Linked DNA regions of Homo sapiens: regions 1 and 3 are each linked to region 2. The links are contacts of gene promoters, found by promoter capture Hi-C in blood cells and fetal thymus (Javierre and others, 2016). All regions are on one chromosome and are shown on one strand. The core of a region is centred on a gene start or on the middle of the fragment in contact, and the rest is flanking DNA. Distances in the headings are between cores, read along the strand shown.

Evidence for each region. Contacts are between HindIII fragments. The CHiCAGO score rates a contact against its expected background, and 5 or more counts as called.
Region 1: a fragment that was not itself captured here is called in contact with the fragment with the promoter of TMEM184C in region 2 in 2 of 17 cell types (total CD8 T cells and fetal thymus); the score reaches 5.6 in total CD8 T cells.
Region 3: a contact is called between the fragment with the promoter of ZNF827 here and the fragment with the promoter of TMEM184C in region 2, in 3 of 17 cell types (erythroblasts, fetal thymus and non-activated CD4 T cells). The highest score is 9.4, in erythroblasts.

What each region holds. Positions count from the first base shown.
Region 1 is chr4:146,172,858-146,175,557 of GRCh38, reverse strand. No RefSeq gene overlaps it. Among named protein-coding and RNA genes, the nearest start is that of LSM6, 1.5 kb to the left of the region's middle. The HindIII fragment of the contact is 223 bases long and covers 1,237-1,459 here.
Region 2 is chr4:147,616,093-147,618,792 of GRCh38, reverse strand. TMEM184C (transmembrane protein 184C) reads right to left here and starts at 1,396. Exons shown (of 10, transcript NM_018241.3): 1 at 714-1,396. The coding sequence starts at 836. TMEM184C-DT (TMEM184C divergent transcript) reads left to right here and starts at 1,548. Exons shown (of 2, transcript NR_186679.1): 1 at 1,548-1,705. RefSeq lists enhancers at 977-1,026, 1,057-1,176. The HindIII fragment of the contact is 5,941 bases long and covers 1-1,702 here.
Region 3 is chr4:145,937,467-145,940,166 of GRCh38, reverse strand. It overlaps ZNF827 (zinc finger protein 827), which reads left to right and starts at 1,344. Exons shown (of 15, transcript NM_001306215.2): 1 at 1,344-1,802. The coding sequence starts at 1,760. RefSeq lists an enhancer at 1,968-2,027 and silencers at 2,402-2,471, 2,592-2,700. The HindIII fragment of the contact is 1,765 bases long and covers 1-1,602 here.

The sequences.
Region 1 (2,700 bases), core at 99-2,598, 1.4 Mb after region 2:
AACAAATACAATACAAAACAAAAACAAAATTCCAGGAAACTAGAAGTGATCTTTTGGGCAGGATTTATTTACAGAAGTGTAAAAAATAACTTGAAGTCATAGGAAACTGGAATTTACTGTTTAAGTAACGGCATTGTGTACCCAGAAACGTCCTTGAATAGTTTAAAGCAAATAAATAAATAAATGAAACACCTCAAGTCTTTAAATCTACCTCTGGATATTGATTAAATGTGTGAAGACTTAAGCCATTTTAGCAAGAGACTGTTTCCATGGCAATGTTAATTGATACAAAAATAATCAAAATCACTCAAGTAACTCCAAATTATAATGACATTAATTGTGTTACATTACTAGTTCCTATTGGAAATGGTGTGCAGACTTATTTCAGTGCTACTATGGGAACTTGGTTTGGAATTTTGCATGAATTCTCAATACTCTTTCTATTAATGGAATTGAAAGGGAAAAAGAAGAGAACTGTTACACCAGGACTTGATTCGTTTTTCCCCCTCCACATATACTCTCATCAGTTGAAAACTTATACTTTAATTATATTTATGATTTGTAACACTATACACAGAGTGATAAGATCTTTCAACACAGATCCTTAACCCCATTAGGTGTTATAAAATCTAAGATGCAAAATTTTTTTCGAAGATAAAGAGTTCCTCCCTTGTAAACTTCTTTTGGTTAAAGGCAGAAGAAATGAACTTTTGATTGATATCAGGGACAGAAAACAACTGGATATGATTTGTTAAAGAATAGAGACTTCCTTATATCCTTCTATAAAAGTTCAGTTTGGATAAAGACCGAACAGTTACTGATTTATTGTGAGGGCTGTATTTGAAGTTCTTGCAATATAAAATACAATGTAAATAAAAATTTTAAGAAAAGTACCATTTAAATCAAATAATTACGTGCAAAGAACAAACATAATAGGATAAAAAGCCCTGTTCCTAAAAACTTTCTTTGCAAACGACATCAAATTGCACATTCCTTACTGATTGTTTAAATTATTAAAAAAAAAAAGAAAATTTTTGATTCAAACTTCTTTCCCTTTCCTACAGAGCCCTAATCGAGCCGTTAACACTAGTGTGGTGGGTAGGGAGCCATGAGGAGTTTTAAGGGCCTAGTTCATCTGCTGAGCAGCTGCAACCTTCTCTAAGGGGAGTAGCTGGGTAAGGGCCCAGTTTGACACACGGGGTGGGCATCCTGAATTAATTCATGAGCTAACAAGCTTATAAAAAGTGTGGCTGTTCCCAAAAGCCCCTCAGCAGCTTATAAATGACTTTTACTAACTCACAAGGCAATTTTCCGTATTTCCCAGGTTTTTGCTTTCAGCATCTTTTATGATGCAAAGAAAACACTGCAAGACTTTTGGTGAATACTAGTCTTCAAAACCCTGAATGTAAACATTAATTTATTAAGGAGCCTTAAAGTCATAAAAATATTTTGGCAAGCTTTAGTTTAACTTATGTAGTTTAGTTTCATTTAGTTGTTAGGACTGATGAACCTACACTGACACATCATTATCATCCAAAGGCCAAAGTTTACATTAGGGTTCACTCTTGGTGTTGCACATTCTATAGGTTTTGACAAATGCATAATGAAATGTACCCACAATTACAGTATCATACAGAATAGTTTCACTGCCCTAAAAATTCTCTGTGCTCCACCTATTTATCCCTTCCTCCCCACTGGCAACCGCTGATCTTTTTTCTGTCTCCAAAGTTTTGCCTTTTTCCACAATATCATATATTTGGAATCATACCGTACACAGTTAGTGGTGCATACACTGCACCACCCCACTGTGTAGCCTGTTCAGACTGGCTTCTTTCACTTAGAAATATGCATTTAAGACCCCTCTGCGCCTTTTCATGGCTTGACAACTCATTTCTTTTAAGTTCTGAATAATATTCCATTATTTGGATGTACCACAGTTTATTTATCCATTTACCTACAGAAGGACATCTTGGTTGCTTCCAAGTTTGGGAAGTTATGAATAAAGCTGCTATGAATATGTGTATGCAGGTTTTTGTATAGAAATAAGTTTTCAGCTTATTTGGGCAAATATCAAGGAGTATGACTGCTAGATCATATAGCAAGGGTATGTTTAGTTTTGTAAGAAACTGCCAAACTGTCTTACAATGTGGCTGTACCATTTTGCATTCCCACTAGGAGTGAATGAGAGTTTCCATTGTTCCACATCCTCATGGGCATTTGGTGCTTCCAGTCCTTTGGATTTTGACTAGTCTAATAGCTGCTTAGTGACTATCTCATAGTTGTTTAAAGTTGTAATTCCCTAGTGACATATGATATGGAGGATCTTTCTATATACTTATTTGCCATATGTATATCTTTGGTTGTTCAGGTCTTTGGCCCAATTTTGAATCAGTTTGTTCTTTCTTTTTGTTGAGTTTTAAGAGTCCTTTGTATATTTTGAATAATAGTTCTTTATCAGATATGTGTTTTACAAATATTTTCTCCCAGTTTATGGCTTGTCTTTTCATTCTCTTGAAGCTATTATGCTTAAAATAGACAAATGCAGATATATAAATGCTAAGAGAACTCTTGCCACTTCATTGTTTGTCCCTTCTACAGTTCTATAGTACATATGCCTTTAAATAACTATGTCCTTCAATGTTTCATATTCATAAAAGATGGTCTCATGTCTAGCTTATTAAACACCCAACAGCCCTGTGA
Region 2 (2,700 bases), core at 147-2,646:
AAATACAGTTTATGTAAAAATCATTTCCACAATAAAGAAGGGCCTAAAATAGTCATGGTCTTATTATAGTTCTTGTAATAGGTGTTCCTCTGTAAAAGTACTTGGTGGGTTTTATTAACTCCGAATTTAAAGTTCATTATATAATATTTATATCTGAGTTATTTACCTTGGGGTTTTCCAGCTTGTAGTACATTACTGATGTCACAATAAGCATATGACATCAAAAAATATATATAAGGGACTTTTTGCAAAACCTTTGTTGGGTAAGAGCTAATTTCCACAGTAAAAACAGACACCAAAGTTAAAACAACTAGAACGCTTTGATTCAAGAAGCTAGTTAAAAGCTAATAAAATTCAATACATGGTTTTCAAGGTAGTTTATTTGACCTAGTTTCGTCCAATGTCTGAACAGATCAGATTTCAGCAATAAAATTACCTTACTTTCAGGGAACTGATGAATACTTGCAAAACAGTGCCCTTCTAAGCAGCTATATTAATATATTCTATTTTCTCGACCCGGTCCCACCTCCACCTGTAGCATGACTTGAAGAACCGTGAACAAGAAATTAGACAGGTTTATATCCTAAGAGTAGGCTCGTTTACATTAGATGGTTTTCAGGACTGTCAGGGCAGAAATGGGGTAAGGGTGTCTCTTTCCCAACCATAGATGGGTAGAAGAAAGTGTACAGGCTGATGGTGCAGAACCCTCTTACCTCCAGTTTCTGTAATTCCCACACGCATAGGGGAACCGCAACCACTATTGACACCAGGTAGATGACCGCTACTAAAGGTCGAATCCACTGTCTCCAGTTCCTCCAGGTACAAGTGCAAGGCATGTTTTCGCACAAATCAGATCCGGTTAGCAAGGGAAAAGATCTCGAAAAGATTGTAATGGGGAGCCCTGTTCTCTGGCTGTTTTGTCAACTCGCATACTACGGAGAAAAAGCTGTCGGGCGACTTTACGAACAGCTCGAGCCGCCTCCTGGACCGGCGCTGTGTCTTCTGCTGCTGCTGCTTCTGCAAATGTAGCCTCTCAGGGTGCTATTGGCGAGCAGTGCAGGCAACATCCTTTCTTCTCCACCCCGCATCTACCCGGTTGTACTGCGGTGGAATCCCAGGCAGAGCCGCTGCCCTCACCTGGGGATCGCCCTGAGCTCTGCCTGTACCATGGCTTCCAGGAGAGCAGCACAGACCAGGAACCGGCCTCTAGGGACCCTGCACACTCCGGTTCTGTCTCGCAGCTGCCTGCCCACTCGCTCTTTTCTTTGGGGATCGAGCTTCCTACCTCCCGCACTGGCAGGCGTCTCTTCAGTCGATTCCGCTAGTAGGTAAGGCCCCAGGATCTCCTCATTCTTTCGCACGGGACCTCCCCTACAGCGGAACCCAAGGCCAAACCAAGACTTTCAGCTCTTTTCCGCTTCCGCCCCTGCTGTCTGAGGCAGGTGATTCGTCGTCAGCGCCAAACTGGGCCCGCCCCATCCGACTCACTTTGCGCCCTCTGATTGGTCAGCTGTGGGGGCGGGGCTGCAGGATTGCGTACTGGGGTTAGAAAGAAGAGCAGGTGCGTGGAAGTGGGTGGAATTGCCGCAGATGGTCCAGCGGGCTATTGCAAGGATTCTGGAAGCTGCGGGAATTATTTGAGGACACTTGAAGCACACCTACTACATTCTTCTGCTGGCGTTATTCCAGTTTAAAGAAAGCTTGGGTAAGGGGCGGTTACTTCAGAGTTGGACTGGAAGAGAGAAGGCCCATCTCTACACAAAACATCCCCTATTCAATCTAGAGTGGATACAGAAGCCCGCTGGAGTAAGAAGACAAGGAAGAATGGGAAACCTCCACCTAGTTTTCTGTCAGTTGCTAGAATCTAGGGGCTAGGCCGCTTGGTTATTTCTGGATCCTACAGAAGGATCATTCTAAAGGTAGCTTCATTTTAGAATTAACCGCAAATAGGGAATGTCCCTTCTACATTTGGAACTTGTGTTAAAAATTTGCACTCATTTAAGTTTTAAAAAGTTGACATTCCATCTGACAAAGGAGTTTCATATGCTTAAAGCCTTTAGCTAAACCAATAGAGTAAACAAATATCTACTACTCAATTACATATACAAATGCGTTTTATATTGTAATTGTAATTTTCAGGGGGACAGGCACTGTACTAAGTTCATTACCTACATTATGTAAGTTGTTCTGCACAAAAATTTTGAGAGGTAGGCATTTTTCCACTTTACAGATAAAAAAGTCAAGTGGCTGATAAATTTGCCCAGGCTCACTGAGCTAGTTAAGTGGTAGTGTGGAGATAGCAACCTTGGTCTTTGTGACTCCAAAGGGCATTATATTTAAGCATTTGACCTGCTAGTACCTGCCACCTGGGGAATTTCCGCCTAATGACCATACGGATAAGGAGGCTTGTAACATTGAGTACACCTAGCCCAGGAGTCTCACAGAGACACCTAAGGAATATTATGAGCCCCTTTTTTGGTATCGTCTGTTTGGACTTGACTTCACTGCCTACTTCTCAGTTGTTAACATTTGTATTTTACAACCTGACCCAAACTACTTTCTACCGGAAAAATAGGCCTTATGTTTGTTCTTCCTAAGCTTACTTTAAAAATGGAAATTAAGGCTGGGTGCAGGGGCTCATGCCTGTAATCCCAGCAGTTTGGGAGGCGGAGGTGGGCGGATCATGAGGTCAGGAAATCG
Region 3 (2,700 bases), core at 95-2,594, 1.7 Mb after region 2:
TGTTCTATGTCTTTACTGTGCCTCCACTTTCTTTGATGAAAAGGTCTATTTAAAAATTGGTAGGAAAATATTTAACATAATAAGATGATGAGTCAGAGTTTTAAAAAAGCTAAAAAGGGAAGATGTAGTTAAATAATGCACCTTTTTATTTTCTAGCTACATGACTCATGACATATAATGTATTCTGCTAAGTTCAAAGTTTCCTCTTACAAAGAGAGTTTTATGAAACAACTCTTCTTCAGACCATTTTTATTTCAATTATAGTAGCAGGTTTTGGAGTTTAAATCATTAACAACCTCTGAGTGAACTTTTATCCAAATGACTGCAAGTCACAAAGAGAACAGTCCTCTTTCACCAAGTACCTTTTGTGCTCTAGTGAGACCCGTCCTTTTCTATTTTTCTCCTTTATGTCTCTCTTTGAAGAAAGATGTGTGATTTGTAAGGTAATGAAAGTATGTATCAGTTAATGAAAACTGCTATATTGGGCTCATAATGCACACTGGAATTGCTTCAGGGTAAACTTCATATACCTGCAGTATATAGCAGGGGAAAAAGTGAATTTCCGAAGTAAAGATTGCTGTGTGCACTCTAGGAGTATCACGTAGCAGTTAAAGCAACCATCAGGGGTGACCTAATCTTATTTTCCTCTCTTTGTCAAGTAGCTGTAATGTTCATTTAGGAGCATTTTTCAGTTTTAACTCCAGTGGACACTCCAAAACTGGGCACTTATTCTGTCAACTGTCAACCAAGTTATTGATTTCACCATATGTTGTCTTCATTTTTTTTAAATTAGTTTTTTTGGAATGTTTTTGAAGAGTGTGTGGGAGACGATAACCTCCAGATTTAAGGTGATGGGGTAGGGACAAAAGCCTGCAGAATTTCATACAGAACAAAATGTAGCTTAATAAACAAAAGAAAGTGAAGAGAGAAATTTATTTCCTTTTTAAAAGTCAGTAAAATAATGAACTAATCGTTGTTTAAAGAGTGAGAAAAACTTTTTCCCCCTAGATTTGGTGACTAGCGGGATAAATTTGAAGAACTCCATCCCACCCCCGCACGCGCGCCCCCCATTCTTTCCAGACAGAGCGGTTGTAAATCCGAGGCTGAGTCCGCCCTGGGAGCCTTGGGGCACTTTCCTCTTTGCTCTGTGTGTGTGTGTGCGTGCGTGTGTGTGTGTGTAGCTCTCGCTCTTTCCCTCAGTCTGTGCCTCTTGTGTGTGTGTGTGTGTGACAGAGAGAGAGCGAGAGAGAGAGCGCGAGAGGAGAGAGAGCGAGAAAGAGAGAGAGAGAGAGCAAGAGAGCGAGCTGTGAGCTGTGCTGCCGCCGCCGCTGCCCTTTGATCCCGACATTAGTGTTAGGGGCTCGGAGACACAGAGCGCGGCCATAGACACCGCCGCACCGGCACTCATTTATTTATACCTCCCATCACACACGCGAGCATAGGACACACACACACTCACACCTATTAGATCCGTTTCCATTGAAGAATATTACGCTCGGGGACAAGCCAGGTGCACGACCAAAAATTTAAAAAAAAAAAAAAAAGGAAAAAAGAAAGGAAAGAAAAGAAGAAAACCCCTCTTCTGGCTCCAGGAAACAAGCTTCAACCCATTGCACACACCGGAGAAGGGGTTTCCCCCTGCCCGCCCGCCCGCCCCCCAACTACCTCCCCGCTCCTGCCAGTGTCTGCCTCTCTGCCCCCACGGGGGTTTATTTGATCTCACATTAACCAAGGAGGAGAATGTGAGAAAAGGGGGAAAATGCCCAGGAGGAAGCAGGAGCAGCCCAAGCGCCTTCCCTCACGTAAGTCATCCCTTCTCCACCTCCTCTCGTGCCATTTTCTCGCCCTCCCTCTCCTCTTTCCCCTCCGCAGCCTCCTCCGTTGTTTTCTGCATTAGTTTAGGGTTACAGAGGTGAAACTGACAAAGACACAGCCCGGGTTACTCCTCGTTTAGGTCTATGCTGAGGCAGCCATGTTGGTGATGATCAGCCCCGTGCCCTTTCTATTCTCTCTCTCTTTTTCTTTCTTTCTCTCACCCCCCCCCTTTTTTTCCTTGAGATCGGGCTTTTTTTTCCCTTTCCCTCCCCTTCCCCCTCCTCACTCTGGGTTGCTGGGGGGAGGGGGCAAGAGAAGGGAGGAGGGGAGTAGTGTGGATGCCGGGGGTTTTATCGGGGGTTTGGTGGGGGGAGGTGGGAGAGGTTGGAATCTTAAAAAAAAAAAAATTCCTTGTGGATTCCGGCGCCTGAGGGTGCGGGGGTCGGGGCGCGCGGAGGGCTGGGGGCCGTGACATGGCGTTTGGGGGTGTCGGGGAGAGGGCGCGCAGCAGCCGCCGGGTACAGGATCCAGGGAGAGGTCCGTCCCTGGCTAAAGGTTGCGCCGGGGTTGGTCGGCCCCCGAGCCGCCGGCGGCAGCGGCGGCGGCGGCTGGAGCAGGAGGAGGCGGAGGTGGAGGAGGCGGCGGCGGAGGAGGGGAGTCGGGGGCGGGCGAGGCGGGAGCGGCTGGGGAGGGTGTAGGGGCACCGCACACAAACACACGGGTACACACGCGCCGCCGGGCGGCTGCTCCCGCGGCGCCGAGGCGAGGGGGCGCGCCGGGGCGCGGGGCGGCCGGGCGGGGGGCGAGGCCGGGCAGCGGCGGGCGGATGTGGGGTGCGGGAGCTGCGCCGAGGCGAAGGCAGGAGGCAGGGCGGCTCGCGGCGCG